Regions from separate parts of the Homo sapiens genome. Here region 1 is linked to region 2. The links are contacts of gene promoters, found by promoter capture Hi-C in human tissues and cell types (Jung and others, 2019). All regions are on one chromosome and are shown on one strand. Each heading gives the region's core, a stretch centred on a gene start or on the middle of the fragment in contact. The rest is flanking DNA. Distances are from core to core; before and after follow the strand shown.

Region 1 (4,370 bases), core at 1,053-3,552, 67 kb before region 2:
TGCCCGCCTGGAGTGCAGGTGACGACTGCAGGTCAGGGGCACCGAGGCAGGCGGGGTAGGAGTACCCTGGGCGGCCTCAGGATCCGGAGTGGACAGCAACAGCCAGCAACCTCCCACCCCGCCGGGCTCCCAGAGACGCGGACAGAGGGACAGATGCGGCAGCTGGGGCAGCCAAGCTAGGCGATCTGCCGGGCTGTGGCGGCACAGGGGTGGGGGTAACCAGACCCACTCGGCCAGATCTCTGGTGGCTGCAGAGCGCCAAGACCCCAGCGCTCCCAGCCTGTTCTGGCAGTCCGGCACTGGAAGCCCAGCGCCAGCCGCGCGCAGCCTGGGAGCGGCTTCCTGGGCCTCGGGCTGGCTGTGGTGCCCAGGCGTGGGCCTAAAGGCTCTGCCTGGCTCACTAGGTCCGAGAGGTCGGAAGCGGCGGTTTCGCTGCTAAAGGCTTTGGTGCCCCGGGCTTAGCTAATTGTGACTGGACTCCGGATTCCGCGAAAAGGCGAAGGGGAGCTGCAGGGTAGCTGAGGCTTCTCCGAAGCTGCCGCGATGAAGAAGCTGTTTGGCTCCAGGAGGAAGAAGGATGAGGTGGCCCTGGGCTCCATCCCTGACCACTTCTACTCGGATTCCTGGTAGCACCGCCGAGATTGAGAGCTCGGCAGGATCCACAAGACGGCCAGAGAGGGAGATACGGCCACAGTGCAGCAGTGCCTTCTGCTCAAGAGCCCTGCATTGAAGGAGGGGGACAACAGGAACAGGAGATGGGAGCTCCCAGCCGAGGGTGGCGGCGGGAAGGGTGGGTCTGGGAGGCGCCCCTGTCCTTCCGTGCAGGCCCCGCAGCCCCTGGGACAGGGACGCCTTGGAGGGGGCGCTGGGGATCTCCATGAGCAGCAAAACCAAAACAAAACGTTAGCTGGTTTCCTATCCTCTTACTCATACTGTCCCGTCTAGAGCACATTATAGACAATTTTAGTGATTTCACTAACAAGTATATAAAGAATTTTATTATTATTATTATTTTGAGACGGAGTCTCACTGTCGCCCAGGCTGGAGTGCAGTGGCGCATCTCGGCTCACTGCAACCTCTGCCTCAGGGGTTCAAGCGATTCTCTTGCCTCAGTCTCCGGAGTAGTTGGGATTACAGGCGCTGGCCAACAAACCCGGCTAATTTTTGTATTTTTAGTAGAGATGGGGTTTCAATTTTAGCCAGGCTGGTCTGGAACTCCTGACCTCAAGTGATCTGCCCGCCTTGGCCTCCTAAACTGCTGGGATTACAGGCGTGAGCCACTGCGCAGGTCCAGGATTTTACTTTTAGTGCATACATTTAAAACATGATGTTATACACATGACAAAAAGGTGCATAATGAGAGAAATGGTTCCCGTAATATAAATACTCTTAAAATATTTTTAGTAGGCTAAAAATTCTTTGGATGAAATCCAATATCCATTTTATATCAATGTACATCTATGTAAATATGTTCTTTACTGAGGGAACTTAGAAGGAAATGTTGAAGTAGGAAGAGAGCTGCATGTTCTTTGATAGGAAGACCGATTTTTCTTAAAATGTGAGCCCTTTATGTGTTTATTAATTTTTTATAAACCTAATAAAATATCAAGGTTTTAACATGTTATCTATATACAAAAGAAAACATGCTTAGCTTTCCTGGGAAGAGAAGGAATTTAAAGTAAAGAGGAGCGAAATACTGTTTTCTATTCCCAATTTTGTGATGATGAAGAGCAGTGGTGCTTATACTGCTGCTTAAAGTTAAAAAGAGTCTGATGACTTTTCAAATGGATAATTTGGTGGTAAGTGCCGTATTTTTAAAAAATATATGCTCTTTACTCCTCAATTCCATTATACTAAAATAGCTTTAGGAAACAGACATATATGCAATTTGGTTTTCTCAGCACTGCTTAATTTTAGGAAGAACCCATAGAATGGATTTTATAAATTTCAGTGCATTCATAGCATGGAATAAGTGATTGTTGAAGGTGGCAACAGATACCGAAGAATGTTGATGTACAAAGATGTATTTTGGTATACTGAGTGAGAAAAAAATCAGTTTGATTATATATCCATACAGGTTGTGATCTTATGTTACCAAAAATATGTACAATATATAAAGTTTTTTCCTTTTTCTTACCTTTGATTTTGGCAATGAGTATGCATAAAAGTTGTAGTGAAAGTTTATTATTAATAGAATAATGCTTGGGAAGAGAAGAATATAAATCTTCAAAGTTAAAAATAATTTATCATTTTCTGTTTATTATTATTATTTTTGTGTAGATTGGTGTCTTCGGTGAACTTTTGACCTCTTCAGAATAAAGGGACTTTTTTTATCTGTGCTTGTAGATTTTATTATGTATATATTTTATTATATATGTGTGTTTTCATTACATGTAGGTTCATTACATATGTGCAAAAAATTAATAGGGTAATCATTTTATTTTCATTGTGTCCTTATGAAAATAAAAAATAGAAGATATACATGATTATTACTTTTGCAGAAGTATTGGTTTACTTTATAGGAGTTTTATTCAAAAAATATTGAACTCCTCAACTGTATTTATCCATTCTTAAAAGAATTTATTCATCAAACATTACCTGAATATCTATTAGGTAGCAGAAATATTCTACTATCTCTCAGAACTCTTCCATCCTGAAAAAATCACGTTTTCCAGCCCAGTCTGAGCAAACGGAGAGATTTAAAATTGGAGTATTAGGACTTCATTTCACTGAAGCTTTCCTTCCCTCCTTTCAAACAAAAGCATTTCTGGGTAGAAAATAGTAAACGACAACCTTAACTGCCCTTTTGAAAATGTATTAGTCTTAAATATTCATATAAATCATTGCAAGTATGTGATTTACATATATTGTATAAATCTAAGTATTGAATAAAATGAGTCATACTTGCTCATTTGAATCCCAAGTTTCCTTTGGCTTATAGTTTTTTTAGCAATCAAAGTAAGAAGTTGTTTTTAAAAATTTGTTGTTGTTATTTTAGCCCTCTTTCCTCATAGTATTTTAAGAACTAACTGGCCAGGCGTGGTGGCTCACGCCTGTCATCCTAGCACTTTGGGAGGCCAAGGTGGGTGGATCATGAGGTCAGGAGTTCGAGGTCAGGTGTTCGAGACCAGCCTGGCCAACATGGTGAAACCCCATCTCTACTAAAGATACAAAAAATTAGCCAGGCGTGGTGGCGCTTGCCTGTAGTCCCAGCTACTCGGGAGGCTGAGGCAGGAGAATCTCTTGAACCTGGAGGCGGAGGTTGCAGTGAGTCAATATCGTGCCATTGCACTCCAGCCTGGGTGACAGGGCAAGGTTCTGTCTAAAAAAAAAAAAAAAAAAAAAAAGAACTAACTTTTTGTTAAGTGCCAATCATGCCTAGAGCTGCCCTGGACCCTTTGAATAGACCACATTCTACTTCACGTAAGGCACAATGGATTGTGTGATGCTTCTTTATTTTATGCTTTTTAAGGAGTTTTTAAAAGTGGTAGTCCTGCCTTTGTATATGAAGGAAGTAAAGGGAAATGAAAATAGAAACTGAACCTCAAAAGAATCTGAGATTACACCAGTATTTGAGAAAGCCAGTTTACTAAGTGGTGGTCTGCTACAACTGAAGGATGACAGCAGTTTAAGTGAAATAGATGAGAAAGGAAGGTGACATCTGTAAGTTCTGTATTTCCCTCTGAAGGAGTGTTAGCAGTGATTCCTTTTTCTGGAAGTAGAATAGTGTAGTCAGCCAAAGCTAGGGAGAATACTCAGCTGTATCAATGTTGCTGAAAGATCAATTAAGATGAGGACTAGTGACTTTGACAAGGAGCAGTTTCAATAAATGTCACCGTGAAACCCTGGGTGAGTCACAGAGCATGACTTAGTTTTCACAACTTTTGAGAGAACTTTTACAGGGAAAGGCAACATTGAGGGACAGCCAAAGAAAAATGAGGGATTCAAGGGAATTTTCTGTTTGTAATTTTAAAATAGAAGCCTTTAGAGCATGTTTGTAGGCTGATGGGAATGATCCAGTGGAGAAGGACGTGTTTATCAAATTTAATTTTGTTTGCAAGTTAAACATTAGAAAGCTTGATGCATTATCTTTTAAAGACTTACAGGAAACTAATTGTCCTTAGCACTTTTATTCATTTATAGTTGTGTGTTAAGAGGTTGTTCCTTCAGAATTGGCCCAGGAATGGAATATTCTAGTCTAATTGAACCTGAAAATGATAACCTAAATATTAAACTCTCATAGTAGATTTTTTAAATGATGTGATATTAAACATACAAACACTTAGGCCACCCTGAATAGAATGTAAATATTCCTTGAGGATGTGTATATATTACAATACCTTTTACAGTAGTATTATGAATAGCTATGA
Region 2 (3,839 bases), core at 575-3,074:
AAAACAGTGGACAAAACAATTGAGAGGAAAAACAAGTTTTCATACAAATCTGGGCTCTCTTCCAAAGAGATCATTAATTCTAAGATATTTTACTATCTGCTCAATGCTACAAAGCTTCCACGTGGCCACTGGATGAAACAGTGTGTACCAAGCCACGGATTCCCTGGCACCATCATTCACACAGTCAACAACAGCACATGCTGGCAAATTCGTTCTCAAGTACCAGCTTACAGTCTCCTTCACCCAAAGCAGGAGGTCAACAATTACTTTCCATTACATTTTGAATACAATTCCCGAAGGAAGGAATGCAAGAAAATGTTCCTCTCATTTTTAAGGACTGTTTTTGGCTGTTTGGGGTTGTTTCTGTTTTGGTGGCGGTAAAGTTCTTCTTTGGTTAAGGTTTAATGTTTATGTATACCATTTACCCACACCACGGAAGGTGGGAAATTCCAGTTGTTCTCGCCCTTTGAGTTTTTAGAATAATCGTATTTACAATGAGGTGCTCAGAATCTGAAACAGTTTGCATTTTAGAAGTATAGGAAAAGAGTCTCCTTAATAAGCACCTATAAGTTGCAGGCACGTAACCAATAAGGGCAGGGGAGAAATTCCCAAATGTCAAAACAACTCCCCCATCCCCCAAACCCCAGCACCCATTTCTTTTTCTTAAGATTTAGGCCTGGAGAAGATGCCAGATTAAGAATGCAAACCACCTTCGAAGAGGACCTTAGGTTGAGCGCCCGGCTGCGCGCTGTGCGGCGGGCGCGGGGGTCCTGGCCAGTTCGGGCGCTCGCTAGCTGCCCCCCTCCTCGGGCTCGCTGCTGGGCGAAGGCGCCGAAGAGGCCTTGGACTCCCCGTCGCTGTTGCATTCCGCCCTGCGCTGGGGGACGGCGCCGGCCGCGCCCTCGAGCCCCCAGGCCTGGCGCTCCAGCAGCTCCTGCAGGTGCTTGATGTAGTCGATGGCAGCGCGGAGCGTCTCCACTTTGCTGAGGCGCTTGTCTGCCAGCTCCCGGGGCAGGTGGTCTCGGAGGCGCGCATAGCCCTCGTTCACGCAGCGCACCCGCTGCCGCTCGCGCTCGTTGCGCTTGCGGAGGAAGGCGGGCTCGAAGGCGCTGTCCAGCGGCACGGGCAAGTACTGCCATCCCCGTGCGCAGCCGCTGCGCGCCCACTCCCAGCACGCGGCGTCCAGACGCAGGGCGACCCTGAGGGGGTCCCTCCGCGGGAGTCCGGGCAGGGTCCCCGGAACGCCCAGGGGCGCGGTGCGCAGCGAGTATGGCAAGGCCAGCCGTTCCGCCGGTTTACGCGTCTCCATCATTTGCCGGAAAGCACACAAATCACTCAAGAGGTCAATCTCTCAATAGAAGAAGACGAAACAGAATCTTAGAAGCAGAGGTGCTGGTGCAGACTGCCTGGCTCAGTGGGTCTGTCTTTGCAGAAGTTTCTGGGTCCAGAAGTTAGGTTCCTGGACAGGCTTCAGGGAAACGGTGCATGATTCCTGAAGTTCATTGCACTCCTCGATCTTTTTATGATTTAGGCAGAGGTGGTAGGCAAAGACGTAGGATCTCCTAATCCACACTTCAAACCCCGTCTTCCCCACTGATCTTCTTTCAGAAGATAACAAAGGGGGTTCCTCTGCCTGGTCCCCCAGCCTGGAAAGGTGAGCTCACACCAGAGTCATCTTCCAAAGCCACCAAAAGCTTTTCAATGCCTGTAATCCACCACTCTAGGTCTTCAAGAGATGAGTCGTTCGCCAAGAGCCTAGCAATCTTCAGGATTTGAGAAGAGCTCCTCCCAGGAACCTGCAGATCTGGCGGCGGAGGGAAAGTGGACCAGAGGCTTTCTCCTTGAAAATCACTTGACTGTCCTTTGTGGTTTCCCGCGACCAGGTCTAATGGAAGGAGCTTTTAGAGTGTTTGCAAACTTAAACTTGCTCTTTCATTTCTGGGGTCTTAGCCTCATCAAAGGAAAAACTGCTCTCTTGCGGTTATAAAATGTGTCAAGTCAAGGAAGACCCGGGGCGAGGCTTGAGGTTTTTCTTCTTCCAAACCGAATCTTTTAAAAACTCAATGAGGCATGTTTGAAGGGTATAGGAAAAATACAGACTGTAGCAAAGAATATAAGGGTCTGCATATTATGTTCCAACATATGTTGTTTTATGGTTGTTGAGGGTGTTTTATGGAGATGCGACTTTTTAAAAGCACATCAAAAGACTGAACAATAACAAACGCGCTTAGCCGGTTATTTCTCACAGTGCTTACTGTAAACACAGCTTAAATACTGCTTCCCAGCCTCCTCTTCTAATCTCACCCAGGATATAAGGACATCATCTTTCCATAGCGCAAAGAGTGTTTTTCCATTGGATTCTTCTTCTTTAAAAAATGTCATTTATTTTCTCTCTTGGGGGCAGGAAAGCAACATTTGAAAGGTGGAGACTCCAAGTTCCAAGGAGAAAGGATGATGTCTTTGAAGACTTGTCTTTTTAAGACACAACCCCTCCAAAATGAATAATTAATCCATCCGTGTTGGTAAACCTTTGAAGATTAAAGTGTCATTAAAAATCCAACTGTACTGGTTAACGTCAAAGAATATGTTATCACACTGAAAATCAGATTTCCTCTTCTGCAAACCAGTACATTAAAGGTGTCTTCTACTTTAAAAGTCCTACTTAAAAACAAGAGAAGCAAAAACCCCCTACATTTATGATGAGAGCTTTTGCCTATTCCTCAGCAGACAAGGTGCTGCCCTAACATGTTTTTCTTTTTAGTTTGGCAAGTCCTGTTCTTCCCTGTTTGTTCTAAATGATCCGCCTGAAGCAACTCAAAAAACAAGGCAAATAAAATAGAAATAATTATTCCTTTCGGGTATAAGTTAGTCACATTTTTAAAGGTGTAGCTTGGCTGGGTGCAGTGGCTCAAGGTTGTATTCCCAGCACTTTGGGAGGCCAAGGCGGGTGGATTGCTTGAGGCCAAGAGTTCAAGACCAACCTGGCCAACATAGCAAGACCCCCATCTTTTAAAAAGAAGAAAGAAAAATTAAAAGTTGTAGCTCCTGATGAGGTTTGTACTGGCAAATAGCCTAATATATCATCACAATTTCTCAGTAGAATTGAGAAAGCCCTTTCTATTAGGAGAAAAGTCCACCACTCAGGCAGGTAGGCTGTTATACCACAAGGTGCTTTTTGGCCATGTCAAAGATTTTAACTTTTAAGAGTGACAGGAAGATAATGAAATATTTTAAGCAGGGAGGTGACATTTGAAGATTTGTGTTTCAAAAAAGATAACTGTGTCTGCAGATTGAGGACTAGATTGGAAGAGAGCAAAAGGAAGAACAGTTGAGATGCCATTTCTCCTTCTCAGATTGGCAAAAGTTTAAAAGATTGCTAAGATTCAGGGGAGGCAAGGATTTGAGGAAAGGGTGGGAGCATAAATTGCTTCAAGAAACTATTAAAATTATTATTATTATTATTATTATTATTATTATTATTATTTTGAGACAGGTCTCACTGTCACCCAGGCTGGGGTGCAGTGATGCGATCTCGGCTCACTGCAACCTCCGCCTCCCAGGCTCAAGGGATCCTCCTATCTCAGCCTCCTGAGTAGCTAGGACTACAGGCTTGTGCCTCCACATCCCAGCTAAACAAACTGTTAAAATTAATAGTGCACATCACATCCTTTGATTCAGATATCTGTGCCGTTTTGTCCTACCAAAATAAATGTAGCAATACCTATTTATGTGTACAATAATCTTTATTGCAACATTTGTAGCAATTTAAAAAAACGAAGACTCCAGGCAAGGTGGCTTATGCCTGTAATCCCAGCACTTTGGGAGGCCAAAGTGGGTGG

Evidence for each region. The method cuts DNA at HindIII sites, captures the fragments that hold promoters and counts their contacts. A contact is called where the count stands out against the background at its distance.
Region 1: a fragment that was not itself captured here is called in contact with the fragment with the promoter of ASCL4 in region 2 in 2 of the 25 tissues and cell types used here (H1 embryonic stem cells and pancreas).

Annotation. Positions count from the first base shown.
Region 1 is chr12:107,839,834-107,844,203 of GRCh38, reverse strand. No RefSeq gene overlaps it. Among named protein-coding and RNA genes, the nearest start is that of ASCL4, 67 kb to the right of the region's middle. The HindIII fragment of the contact is 4,762 bases long and covers 1-4,370 here.
Region 2 is chr12:107,772,689-107,776,527 of GRCh38, reverse strand. It overlaps ASCL4 (achaete-scute family bHLH transcription factor 4), which reads right to left and starts at 1,824. Exons shown (of 1, transcript NM_203436.3): 1 at 1-1,824. The coding sequence starts at 1,309. The coding sequence ends at 791. The HindIII fragment of the contact is 5,777 bases long and covers 905-3,839 here.